Regions from separate parts of the Homo sapiens genome. Here region 2 is linked to region 1. The links are contacts of gene promoters, found by promoter capture Hi-C in human tissues and cell types (Jung and others, 2019). All regions are on one chromosome and are shown on one strand. Each heading gives the region's core, a stretch centred on a gene start or on the middle of the fragment in contact. The rest is flanking DNA. Distances are from core to core; before and after follow the strand shown. Region 1 has its middle 18 kb from the start of LINC00661. Region 2 holds the start of CIB3 (calcium and integrin binding family member 3).

Evidence for each region. The method cuts DNA at HindIII sites, captures the fragments that hold promoters and counts their contacts. A contact is called where the count stands out against the background at its distance.
Region 2: the fragment with the promoter of CIB3 here is called in contact with a fragment that was not itself captured in region 1 in 1 of the 25 tissues and cell types used here (liver).

The regions. Positions count from the first base shown.
Region 1 is chr19:15,994,405-16,000,958 of GRCh38, reverse strand. It overlaps the pseudogene LOC124900424 and the pseudogene CYP4F9P. Among named protein-coding and RNA genes, the nearest start is that of LINC00661, 18 kb to the left of the region's middle. The HindIII fragment of the contact is 3,126 bases long and covers 632-3,757 here.
Region 2 is chr19:16,169,808-16,177,038 of GRCh38, reverse strand. It overlaps CIB3 (calcium and integrin binding family member 3), which reads left to right and starts at 3,514. Exons shown (of 6, transcript NM_054113.4): 1 at 3,514-3,614; 2 at 3,843-3,877. The coding sequence starts at 3,564. The HindIII fragment of the contact is 31,728 bases long and covers 1-7,231 here.

The DNA of each region.
Region 1 (6,554 bases), core at 945-3,444:
AATGAAAGAAATGGCCAAGGCCGTGAGACAAAGAGGCCATCGGCCAAGGGCTGCGGTGCCTTAGAGGAACCAGATACTGACCTGATTGGGCTGACAGGAGCTGAAGGATGTGAGGATTAGGACAGACCAGGCTCCTTCTCATTAGGCCTCCAGGGGCCTGTGGTCACATTAAAAGTTGGAGGCCAATTGATGAACTTTATTGTAGATGCTGAGGCTGAACACTCTGTAGTAACTTGACCCATAGGGCCACTATCCAAGAACTATACAACTATTGCAGGAGCTGCTGGAGTCTCAGAGAAGAGGCCATTTAGTCAGTCAAGGAGGTGTGTTATAGGAAGACGAGAAGTCTAGCATGAATTCCTATACCTCCCAACTTGTCCAGTTCCCTTGTTAAGAAGAGACCTACTTCAAAAACTGCAGGCACAGATTACTTTTAGGCTTCAAAAAGATATGACTTTCAATCTGACTCACCCAAAAGCCATAGTGTTAACCCTTACCATTCCACAGGCTGAGGAATGGAGACTTCATAGAAAGAAACTGCAGGCGCCAGTGCAGCTTCATACACGGAAAGAAGAAAAATTATTATTTGGACTAGTTAATAAAATTCCTAAGGTATAGGCTGAAGATAACCCACCTAGGCTGGCTGTAAATCATCCACCAGTAGTAGTTAAACTGAAACCAGGAGCAACTCTGGTTCGAGTTCGTCAGTACCCGGTCCCCTGAGAGGCTATTTGAGGCATTTGTAAGCATTTAGACTGGCTCTATAAACACAGGATCTTAGTCCGATGCCAGTCTCCCCGGAATACTCCACTTTTGCCAGCATGAAAGCCGACACCAGGACCAGGGTCTAATGTGTATAGACCAGTGCAAGACTTGCGGGCTAGAAACAGGGCCACAGTGGCTATCCACCTAGTAGTACCAAACCTATATACTTTAATGGGACTTATTCCAGCAAGTTGCCACTTGGTTTACGGTCTTAGACTTAAAAGATGCCTTCTTCTGTATCTGACTGGCACCAGTTAGTCAGCCCATTTTTGCATTTCAATAGGACAAGGAAGCTACACAGCTCACCTGGACTAAGCTCCCACAAGGGTTCAAAAACTCTCTTACAATCTTTGAGGAAGCACTGGCCTCAAACCTCAAGGCCTATACCCTGCCAAATGATAACTGTGCCTTGTTTCAGTACGTGGACGACCTTCTTTTGGCAGCCCCAACCCGAGAGGATTATTACCAAGGAACCCAGGACCTCCTCCATCTTTTATGGAAAACAAGTTACAAAGTATCTAAAAAGAAAGCCCAAATTTGCCATGAAAAAGTTAAATATCTAAGTTTCATAGTAAGCCACAGAGAACACCAGCTTGGCTATAAACAGAAGCAGGCCATTTGTGCACTCCCAACCCCAACCACCCGGTGTCAAATACGATAATTTTTAGAGGCAGCAGGATTTTGCCATATTTGGATTCCAAATTTTTCATTAATGGCTAAACCATTATATGAAGCCACAAAGATAGGAGAAAAACAGCCCCTCCTTTCGAAGACTAATCAAGAAATAGCATTTGAACAGATCAAGGAAGCTTTAACTTGGGCCCCAGCTTTAGGACTACCAGACATAACTAAGCCTTTCTTTCTATATGTTCATGAACAAAAAGAAATGGCTATAGGAGTTCTGACTCAAGTTATAGGGTCATAACATTGCCCAGTGGCATACTTATCCAAAGAACTGGACTCCATGCATGGTGCTAGGATGGCCTCCTTTTCTTTTCTTTTTTTTTTTTTTTTGAGACGGAGTCTTGCTGTGTTGCCCAGGCTGGAGTGCAGTAGCGTGATCTCGGCTCACTGCAACCTCCGCCTCCTGGGTTCAAGAGATTCTTGTGTCTCAGCATCCCGAGTAGCTGGGATTACAGGCCCCTGCCTTGCTTGCAGGTCCCCACATGAAGGAGGGCATGAGAGTTCTGACTCAGCTGGTGGCCACTTACCCCCAGGGCTTTAAGATCTGGATGAACCCCATTACTCCCATCATCAGGTTGTGCCACCCCAACATCATCTGGTCTGTCATCAATGCCTCAGGTACCATCTGAAACACCTGGTGGTGAATGCCGTGGTGCATCTGAGGCCTGCAAGCCCCTCCTCCCCCAAGCTTCTGTGTGGCCGCTGCAGTATCCAGGCCCTTCCTTCTTGCTTCACCCTCAGCCATCTTCTCTTTCCTTCATGTATTCACCAACCCCCATCTCAGCGTCTCCTCCCACTACTGCCATCCCCCCACCACCCCGGCGTTCTGTGCACTACTGGAGCCCCATGAGGCCTCAACCCAAGGCTCTGTCCTGGAAGGATCTCCCAAGCTTGAGGAGATGGATCTGGGCAGAGACATCCCCAAAGTCATGGGGTCAGGAGTGGTCCAGAAGGAGATGGGCTGGGAGAGCCCAGAGGAGAACCTGGTCTCTCCTGGGGCAGGCTGGAAGGCTTCCTGGAAGAGAAGTTGCTGGAGCTGGGTTTCTAACAATGAGTAGGAATGTTTTAAAGTGGGGGATGAAGCGATGCAATGGGCAACATTAGAATTCAAGACCTCCTGCCAGGCCTGGCATCACCTTGCATGTCCCCAAGCCCAGAACAATGAGGAGGACATGCAGTTGGTGGAGGATCTGGACTGCTATTTTCATGACATTCACCTCTGTGGGTCGGTTCCTTCTACCCCATCCTGTGGTTCTTCCACTATATGCTCATTGCCCTCCTGCTCCAGGCCCTAGGAATCTCCAGTAGGAGACGCCACCCGAGCCTGGAGCCCTACCCTTGCCCAAACGTGAGGCGCATCCCAAACATGGCCCAGACGTCACCAGCAGAAGAAAAAGACTATCTCAAACAGAATCGCAGACAAACCCCACATACCCCAAATACTCTTGGCCACAGCTGAGCCCTAGACATAACCATCTCCATATGATCCCAGGGATGTGCCTCATGTCTGGAACCCAGGGTCTGTGTGTAAACATTCTGAGACATTGTTTGAGTATTGTTTGAGACAGGCTTCAGGGTATATTTGAGTCATGACTATGGAACATTTGGGACCAGACATGGGCTATTTCTGGGATATTAAAGGGACCATATTTAAATCTGAATCCTAACTGGGGCCTGCCTATAGGGCATGCTAAGGTCATTTCAGAGTGTCTAAGATCCTTGTTAGAGCACAGCATAGCATGCTAGGGCTTGTTGTGTATTTTGTGACCATGTCAGGACATGTTAACACATATCGGGGCCATGTCACATGTTTCTACTATGCTGCGCTTTGAGGGAGTAAGTGTGGTCTCTGGCTTGGAGCCTCACCCCACACCCAAAGTCCCTCCCTCACCCTTTCCATGGTTTCTGATGGTCCTCATTCATGTCAGCCACCATTGCACCAAAAGACGAGGCCTTCTACAAGTTCCTGAAGCCCTGGCTGGGTGAGTACCTGTAGGTGAACAAGGGTGGGAAAAACCTTGGGGGATGGGTAAGAAGAGGGAGATACCCTTGCCCATGGCCCTTGACTGCCTCTACTAGGGGATGGGCTCCTGGTAAATGCCAGTGACAAGTGGAGCTGCCACCGTCAGATGCTGATGCCCGCCTTCCATTTCAACATGCTGAAGCCCTATATGAAGTTTTTCACTGACAGTGTGAATATCATGCACGTGAATTCTTTGAACCCAGAGTTCCAGCTGAAGCCTTGGGGTGGAGGCACCACAGACAGATCTGGTCTGGAATTTTGGCTCTGCTGGGTGGCATTCAGCATTGCTTTTCCTCTCTGAGCTTTGGTTTCCTCAGCTGTAAAATGGGTATAATAATCCCTACTTAAAAGATGGTCAAGGTGATGTAATGGAGTCATATCCCTGGTGCATAGTAGGTGCCCAGAAAGTGTCTGTTTCTATATTTCCTCTTGTAAACTCAAGAGGGTCATGATGACAATTGTATAGTAGCTGTTGCTGAGTAAGAAACAACTTGAGAACTCATTGGTTTAAAACAATAAGGTTTTATGATTGCTAACAAGTCTATGAGACAGGTGGCTGGTATATTAGTCTGTTCTCATGCTGCTGATAAAGACATACCTGAGACTGAGTACTTTAAAAAGGAAAGAGGTTTAATTGACTCACAGTTCCACATGGATGGGGAGGCCTCACTATCATGGTGGAAGGTGAATGAGAAGCAAAGTCATGTCTTACATGGTGGCAGGCAAGAGAGTGTATGCAGGGGAACTCCCCCTTTATAAAACCATCAGATCTTGAGAGGCTTATTCACTATCATGAGAACATCATGGGAAATACTCACCCCCATGATTCAATTATCTTCCACTTGGTCCCTTCCATGACACTTGGGAATTATGGGAGCTACAAATGAATATGAGATTTGGGTGGGGACACAGCCAAACCACATCTTCTATCCCTGCCCCCTCCTAAATCTCATGTCCTCACACTTCAACACCAATCACACCTTCCAAACAGTCCCTCAAAGTCTTAATTCATCTCAGCATTAACTCAAAAGTCCACAGTGTAAAGTTTCATCTGAGATGAGGCAATTCCTTTCCTCCTATGAGCCTGTAGAATCAAAAACAAGTTAGTTACTTCCTAGATACAATGGGGGTACAGACATTTGGTAAATACACCATTCCAAATGGGAGAACTTGTCCAAAACAAAAGGGCTACTAGCCCCATGTAAGTCCAAAATGCAGTAGGGGAGTCATTAAACCTTAAAGTTCCAAAATGAACTCCTTCGACTCCATGTCTCACATTCAGTTCATGCTGATACAAGAGGTGGGCTCCCATGACCTTGGGCAGCTCCACTCCTGTGGCTTTGCAGGGTACAAGCCCCCTTCTAGCTGCTTTCACAAGCTGGTGTTGAGTGTCAGTTGCTTTTCCAGGTGCACAGTGCAAGCTGTCAGTGGATCTACCATTTTGGGATATTGAGTGGCCCTCTTCTCACAGCTCCACTAGGCAGTGCCCCAATAGGGACTACGTGTGGGGGCTTGCACCCCACGTTTCCCTTCCATATAGCCCTACCAGAGGTTCTCCATGAGGGCCTCACGCTTGCAGCAAACTTCTGCCTGAATATCAGGCATTTCCGTACATCCTCTGAAATCTAGGCCGAGGTTCCTAAACCTCAATTCTTGACTTCTGTGCACCCACAGGCTCAACGCCACGTGGAAGCTGCCAAAGCTTGGGACTTGCATCCGCTGAAGTCATGTACCTTGGCCACTTGCCATGGCTGGAGCAGCTGGGATGCAGGACACCAAGTCCTTAGGTTGCACACAGCAAAGGGGCCCTGGGCCTGGCCCAAGTAACCATTTTTTCCTCCTAGGACTCTGGGCCTGTGATGGGAGGGGCTGCCACTAAGGTCTCTGACATGCCCTGGAGTAATTTTCCCCATTGTCTTGGTGATTAACATTTGGCTCCTTGTTACTTCTGTGAATTTCTGCAGCAGGCTCGAATTTCTCCCCAGAAAATGGGTTTTTCTTTTCTATTGCATCATCAGGCTGAAAATTTTTCAAACTTTTTTTCTCTGCTTCCTCTTGAATGCTTTGATGCTTAGAAATTTCTTCTGCCAGATACCCTAAATCATCTTTCTCAAGTTCAAAGTTTCACAGATCTCTAGGGCAGAAGCAAAGTGCTGTCAATCTCTTTGCTAAAGCATAGCAAGAATCACCTTTATTCCAGTTCTCAACAACTTCCTCACCTCCATCTGAGACCACCTTAGCCTGGACTTCATTGTCCATATCACTATCAGCATTTTGGTCAAAGCCATTCAACAAGTCTCTAGGAAGTTCCAAACTTTTCCACATTTTCCTGTCTTCTGAGCCCTCCAAACTGTTCCAACCTCTGCCTGTTACCCAGTTTCAAAGTCACTTCCACATTTTTGGGTATGTTAACAGCAGCACCTCACTCTACCAATTTACTATATTAGTCCATTCTCATGCTGCTAATAAAGACATATCCAAGACTAGGTAATTTATAAAAGAAAGAGGTTCAATTGACTCACAGTTCTGCAGGGCTGGAAAGGCCTCAGGAAACTTACAATCATGGTGGAAGGGGAAGCAAACACGTCCTTCTTCACATGGCAGCAGCAAGAGGAAGGGCTGAGCAAAAGGGGGAAAAGCCCTTTATAAAACCATCAGATCTTGTAAGAACTCCCTCACTACCATGAGAACACCATGAAGGTAATCACCACCAGGATTAAATTGCCTCCCACCAGGTGTCTCCCAAGACAAATAGGGATTATGGGAACTATAATTCAAGTTTGGGTGGGGACACAGCCAAACCATATCAGTGGGTTCTTCTGGATGTGCAAGAGATATTCATGGCACATGAGAAGCTGTGGGTCAGGTAGGCAGCCTTGCTGGTCTTGGCTCAGTTCTCTCAAACGTTTGGGTTTTGTCTGGTTTCAAATTGACACAGATGTCCTCAGCTGGGACTCCTGGACTTTCCTCCAGGGATTCTATCCCTCCAGAAGGCACCCCATGGTTCACATGGCAGAGAGGGTTCCAGGGAGTGAGACGAGGCAGGTTAGATTCATTAGTTATTACCTCATCAATTTCACAT
Region 2 (7,231 bases), core at 2,265-4,764, 170 kb before region 1:
TATATATTCTGAATAGTAGTTCCTTATGAGATATATGATTCACAAATACAGTTAGCCCTTCATATCCAGTTTCCTTATCCATGGATTCAATAAACCACGGAGTGAAAATACCTGGAACCAATAAAATAAAAATAATACAACAATAAAAAGAATACAAATAAAAATGTGTAACAATTATTTATGTAGCATTTATATTTCATTAGATATTATACATAATTTAGAGATAATTTAAAGTCTATGGAGGGCCGGGCATGGTGGCCCATGTAATCCCAGCATTTTGAGAGGCCAAGGTGGGCCGGATCACTTGAGGTCAGGAGTTTGTGACCAGCCTGGCCAACATGGCAAAACCCCGTCTCTACTAAAAATATAAAAATTAGCTGGACACAGTGGTGTGCACCTGTAATCCCAGCTACTAGGGAGGCTGAGGCAGGAGAATTGCTTGAACCTAGGAGGCAGAGGTTGCAGTGGGCTGAGATTACGCCACTGCACTCCAGCCTGGGTGACAGAGCCAGACTCCAACTCGAAAAAGTAAAATAAAAATAAATAAATAAATAAATAAAGTGTATGGAAGATGTGCACAGGCTATATGCAAATATTATGCCATTTTATATAAATGACTTGAGCACTGAGCATTTGTCCCATTCTGTGGGCATGACAGGTTTTTGTGTGAACCTAGTTTAAATTTTTTTTTTACACTATACTTTATTTTTTTAGAGCAGTCTTAGTTTCACAGCAAAATTGATCAGAAGGTACAGAGATTTCCCGTACACCTGCTGCTTTCATACTTGTATAGCTTCCCCTACAATCAACATCCTCCACATGCAAGTGCATGACAGTAGCTAGTCTGTTACAATTGATGAACTGACACTGATACATCATTATCACCCACAGTGGTTAGTGGATAGTTTACATTAGGGGTCACTCTCAGTTGAACATAGGTTTTTATTTCCCTTGGGTAAACACCCAGGAGTCTTTTTTTTTTTTTTTTTTTGAGACAGGATCTCACTCTGTCTCCCAGGCTGGAGTGCAGTACAGTGGAGTGATCATAGCTCACTTCATCCTCGACCTCCCTACCTCAAGCAAACCTCCCAAGTAGCTGGATACCACCAAACCTGGCTAATTTTTGTATTTTTGTAGAGATGGGGCTTCACCATGTTGCCTAGGCTGGTCTCCAACTCCTGGGCTAAAGTGGTCCTCTTGCCTTGGCCTCCCAAAGTGCTGGGATTACAGGCATGAGCCACCATACCAGGCCCTGAATCTTGTGGTAAGGTTAAGTTTAATTCTATTTAAAAAAAACCCAGCCAACCTATTTTCCAGAGTGTCTATACCATTTTGCATCAACACCAGCAATGTATGAGCATTCCAGTTGCTCCATACCCTCACCAACACTTGATATTGTTTATTTTTTGAAAGTTATTCTTGGATGGCTGGGCATGGTGGTTCATGCCTGTAATCCCAGCACTTTGGGAGGCTAAGGTGGGTAGATCACTTGAGGCCAGGTGTTCAAGACCAGCCTGGGCAACATAGACAGACCCTGTCTCCACAAAAAATACAAAAAAAAAAAAATTAGCCGGATGTGGCAGCATGTGCCTCTAGTGCCAGCTACCTGGGAGGCTGAGGAAGGAGGGTCGCTGCAGTGAGCCATGATTGTATCACTGCTCTCCAGCCTGGGTGACAGAGTGAGACCCTGTCTCAAAAAAAAAAAAAAGTCATCCTTGAGGCATCTTTCAAGCCTGATCAGGGTCACATTTTACAAGATGACTGCACAGATTTGGCAGAGGATGCTTGATGAGGCCGAGGCAGGAAAGCCTGCTGGGAAACATTGCAATAGTCCAGGCCAGGTAGAGAAAACACAGGTGAGACCCAAAGTGAGAAGGGCATGGAGGGCCAGGCTAAGAAATTTAGACTCTCAGATTCTCCACCCAAGAGGATTCTGGGCCTTAATAAAGTTGGTAGCTGCTACATTAGATCTGCCCTTTGGGCCGGGCGAGGTGGCTCACACATGTAATTCCAGCACTTTGGGAGGCCGAGGCGGGTGGATCACCTGAGGTCAGGAGTTCGAGACCAGCCTGGCCAACATAGTGAAACTCTGTCTCTACTAAAAATACAAAACTTAGCCAGGCGTGGTGGTGGGCGCCTGTAATAATCCCAGCTACTCGGGAGGCTGAGGCAGGAGAATGGCCTGAACTCGGGAGGTGGAGCTTGCAGTGAGCCGAGATCACGCCACTGCACCCTAGACTGGGTGACAGAGCGAGACTCCGTCTCAAAAAAAAAAAATACAAAAAAAATTAGCTTGGCATGGTGGACACCTGTGGTCCCAGCTACCTGGGATGCTGAGGCAGGAGAATCACTTGAACCTGGGAGGCAGAGATTGCAGTGAACCGAGATCACACCACTGCACTCCAGCCTGGGCAACAGAGTGAGACTGTCTCAAAAAAATAAAATGTAATAAAATAATAATGTCAATGCACACCCCAGAACTTCATCTAGCTTGTTCACCATTATGTTCCCAATGCAGTGATGCAATCATGGCTCACTGCAGCCTCAAACTCCTGGGCTCAAGCAATCCTCCCACCTCAGCCTCCTGAGTAGCTGGGACCACAGGCATGCACCACCACATCCAGCTAATTTTTGTATTTTTAGTAGAGATAGGGCCTTGCCATGCTGCCCAAGCTGATCTTGAACTCCTGGCCTCAAGTGAATCTCATGCTTTGTCCTCCTAAAGTGCTGGGATTACAGGTATGAGCCACCTCGCCCAGCCAAAACCTTTTTTTTTTTTTTGGAGATGGAGTCTTACTCTGTCACCCAGTCTGGAGTGCAATGGCGGGATCTCGGCTCACTGCAACCTCCACCTCCTGGGTTCAAGCAATTCTCCTGCCTCAGTCTCTGGAGTAGCTGGGATTACAGGCATGTGTCACAATGCCAAGCTAATTTTTGTATTTTTAGTAGAGATGGGGTTTTGCCGTGTTGGCCAGGCTGGTCTTGAACTCCTGACCTCAGGTGATCCGCCTGCCTGGCCCTCCCAAAGTGCTGGGATTACAGGTGTGAGCCACCTTGCCCAGTCAAAACCTTTTTTTTTTTTTTTTAAATCTCAGATCCTGAGAATGACCCTATGAGGTAGGTATAATGTAATTTTCATCTCATGAATGAGGTTCAGAGAAGTCAGGTGACTTGCCCAGGGCCACACAGCTAGTGGGCAGAGAGCTGGGATTTGAGCTGCAGTGTGCCCATAGCCCTTCTGTATACCCTGCCTGTCTCTTGAGTGTGCCCCATAACCCCAGCCTCACCTTGTGGTGGCAGATGTGGCCTCCCCACTGAGGTCTTCTCTGTGACATCCCACAGCCCTTATCCTTACCCATGGACACATTCAGGCTGTTGTCCAGAGAGCCTGGCTGTAATTTGAGTCTCATCAAGCAGGGGGTGATGGCGTAGGTGGGTGGGTGACAGCCAGGGCAGGGAGATTTGCCCAGACACTGGTACACAACAGCCTGGCAACCCGTGTGGCCCCGAGGAAGCTGGGAGCCTTTGGGGTGCATCCCCAAGTCTGGGCTGTGGTTCACACCATGGGCAACAAGCAGACAGTCTTCACACACGAGCAGCTGGAAGCGTATCAGGTAGAGGGGGGCAGGATGGGTCCTCAGTGGGTTTGACAACTTTGGTTCCGTGGTCTGGGAAATGGGAACAGAATGCCTTCATCTGGGTGTACCGTCCGCCTGGGTTCCTGGTTCTGCTCTGTGTGTGGCAGCATCAGGCCATCTGTGTGAGTGTGGGGTGGAGGGAGGAGGCCGTGGGAGGAGGCCCCAGAGGCAGGGTTCGGGTTAAGACAACACCTCTCTCCACAGGACTGCACATTTTTCACAAGGAAGGAGATCATGAGGTCAGTCCAGGGAGGAAGGGAGAGAAGATCTGGAAAAACAACTTTCTATTCATTGCTGGAGGATATTTGCAATTTGGTGTGTGTGTGTGTGTGTGTGTGTGTGTGTGTGTGTGTGTGTGTAAGTAGTCTTTCTTTCTTTCTTTCTCTTTTCTCTCTCTCTCTCCCTCCCTCCCTCCCTTCCTTCCTTCCTTCCTTCTTTTCTTTTTTTTTGAGACAGGGTCTGTCTCTATTGCCTGGGCTGGAGTGCAGTGGTGCAATCATGGCTCATTGCAGGCTCGATCTCCCAAGGTCAGGTGATCCTCCCACCTCAGCCTCTCGAGTAGCTAGGACCACTGGTGCGAGCCACCACATGTACCTCATTTTTGTATTTTTTTATAGAGATGGGGCTCTCACTATGTTGCCCAGGCTGGTCTTAAACCCTTGGGCTCAAGCGATCCCCCTGCCTCAGCCTCCCAAAGTGCTGGGATTACAGGTGTGAGCCACCATGCCCAACTGGTATTTCCAATTTGTTGGGACTCAAATGGGGAAGGGGGGCAGGTGTGGTCAGTGGACAGAGGCAGAGATGGAGAAGCTGACAAGTCACATCTTGTCATACTGTCCCAGTCTCTAGGCTGATGAGCTTGGGCTTTCTCCCAAGGGTGGCAGGGAGCTATGGAGCATGCATGAGCAGGGGAGAGACCATCAGCACGTTAGAAAGATTCTCCTGAGGCTGGGCGCGGTGGCTCATGCCTGTAATCCCAGCACTTTGGGAGGACAAGGTGGGTGGATCACCTGAGGTCAGGAGTTTAAGATCAGCCTGGCCAACATGGTGAAACCCCATCTCTGCTAATAATACAAAAATCAGCTGGGCGAGGTGGTGGGTGCCTGTAATCCCAGCTACTCAAGAGGCTGAGGCAGGAGAATTGCTTGAACCTGGGAGGTGGAGGTTGCAGTGAGCCGAGATCACGCCACTGTGCTCCAGCCTGGGTGACAGAGCTAGACTCTGCCTCAGAAAAACAAAATGAAAGATAAAGATTCTCCTGAGACTGGGACTTGAGGCTGGGAGCCCAGGTGCAAAGTCCAGAGCCCAGTCTGGGTTGTGGGCTTGGCATTAAGATGAGGGTGTGAGGAGGTGGCCCAAGGCTGCTGCAGGTCCCTGGCGTGACCCAGCACGATGGGCACAGATGAGTATCCCACATCATCACTCGGCCTGTGGGGCCATTGCCCAGGGGCCCCGACCCATGAACTTGGAGCTATGAAACCCAAGCTGGCCAGGGTTCAGCTGCAGTGTGATCGGGGCCAAGGCCCCAGTTGTGTAGTAACAGGACATCCATTATTGATGGCCACACCTTTTACTAGTGAGCCCCATTGTTTGGGTGAGGACAGCTTGCAGGGTCACCTCGGCCATCACGATCAAATTACTGATGGGGAAACTGAGGCTCAGACAGGGCGGGGCTGATCCCAGGCTGAAGGGTAAATGCACAGAGCCCCAAGGCCCCAAGGACAGACATTTTGTCTGTCCCAAGCTTCTTGCTTATCAGATAGAATAACCAAGGCACAGAGAGGGAGAGGAGAGGAACATGCTCAGAGCCACACAGAAACCTAAACCCAGGGTATTCCCTGATGGGACCCCGACAGGGAACTGAGTGGTCAGGATGAAAGTTCTAGGTCTCCCCACCCCACCTTCATTGAGTTCCTAGTCATCATATGACCTAGGGACTCATGTCTCTCTCAGAGACAGTCCCTAGCAGCTTGGGGACCTCAGACCCACCAAGGATGGTCTCTGCAAGGCTGCTGCTCAGCATGCCCTAATGAAGGTATGGTGTCACAGGTGAGGGCTTCTGAGTGGAGAACTGGCCTTATAATCTGGATAGTGTGTGTGGTATTCAGTTATTTGCAAAATATCTTTTGTCTGCCCTTTAGAAAAAATGTGACTATTAGCTGTTTGTCTCTGCTCTGCCCCATTGAGGAATCCCTCCTTTTTTTTCTTTCTTTCTTCTTTTCTTTCTTTCTTTTTTATTTTTTATTTATTTATTTTTTTTATTGAGACCGAGTCTCATTCTGTTGCCCAGGCTGGAGTGCACTGGCTTGATCTCGGTTCACTGCATGCTGCGCCTCCCGGGTTCACACCATTGTCCTGCCTCAGCCTCCGGAGTAGCTGGGACTACAGGCGCCCACCACCACGCCTGGCTAAATTTTTATATTTTTAGTGGAGACGGGGTTTCACCATGTTAGCCAGGATGGTCTTGATCTCCTGTCCTCGTGATCCACCTGCCTCGGCCTCTCAAAGTGCTGGAATTACAGGCGTGAGCCACCGCGCCCGGCCTCTTTCTTTCTTTTTTCTTTTCTTTTTTTTTTTTGAGACAGAGTCTCGTTCTTGTTGCCCAGGCTGGAGTGCAGTGACACGATCTCAGCTCACTGCAACCTCCAGCTCCCAGGTTCAAGTGATTCTCCTGCCTCGGCCTCCCGAGTAGTTGGGATTACAGGTGCCCGTCACCACGCCCAGCTAATTTTTTGTATTTTCAGTAGAGATGGGGTTTCACCATGTTGGCCAGGCTAGTCTCGAACTCCTGACCTCTGGTGATCCACCCGCCTCGGCCTCCCAAAGTACTGGGATTACAGGCATGAGCCGCTGCATCCGGCCTCTTCCTCCCATTATAAGGAGAGGAAGGGAAGGTATGAAAGTGAAGGTATCTTTGGAGGCAGGGTCTTGCTGATAACATGACAATATCCAGAGATGTGTGGATTATATAGGATTCTCTGAATGCTTGCTGTGATCTGGCCATAAGCACCCTCCCTTCTCCCAACTCCATCTGCTTTAGAAGCTCCTACTCATGCTTCAAAGCCCAGAACCAATGTCCCCTCTTCCAGGAACCCCCTTCTCCTCGCTAGCTTGCTTCCCCCAGTCCAGTCTCCCTTTGTCCTGTGGCCCTCTCTGCACCTTGACCCTGCCCCCAGGGAGGTTAGGGGTGCCTGTGTCAGGCTCTGTATGCTTGAGGTCCAGGCCCAGGGCTGAGTGTTCTTGGGGACCCAGTATACCTCAGTGTGCAGTGAGCAGCTGTGAATGTGAAAGAGAAGGGACTTGGCCAGGTGCGGTGGCTCACGCCTGTAATCCCAACACTTTGGGAGGCTAAGTCAGGTGGATCATCTGAGGTCAGGAGTTTGAGACCAGCCTGACCAACATGAAACCCCGTCGCTACTAAAAATACAAAAGAATTAGCCGGGCGTGGCAGGGTGTGCCTGTAATCCCAGCTACTTGGGAGGCTGAGGCAGGAGAATTGCTTGAACCCGGGAGGCAGAGGTTACAGTGAGCCGAGATTGTGCCACTGCACTCCAGCCTGGGTGACAGACCGAGACTCTGTCTCAAAAAACAAA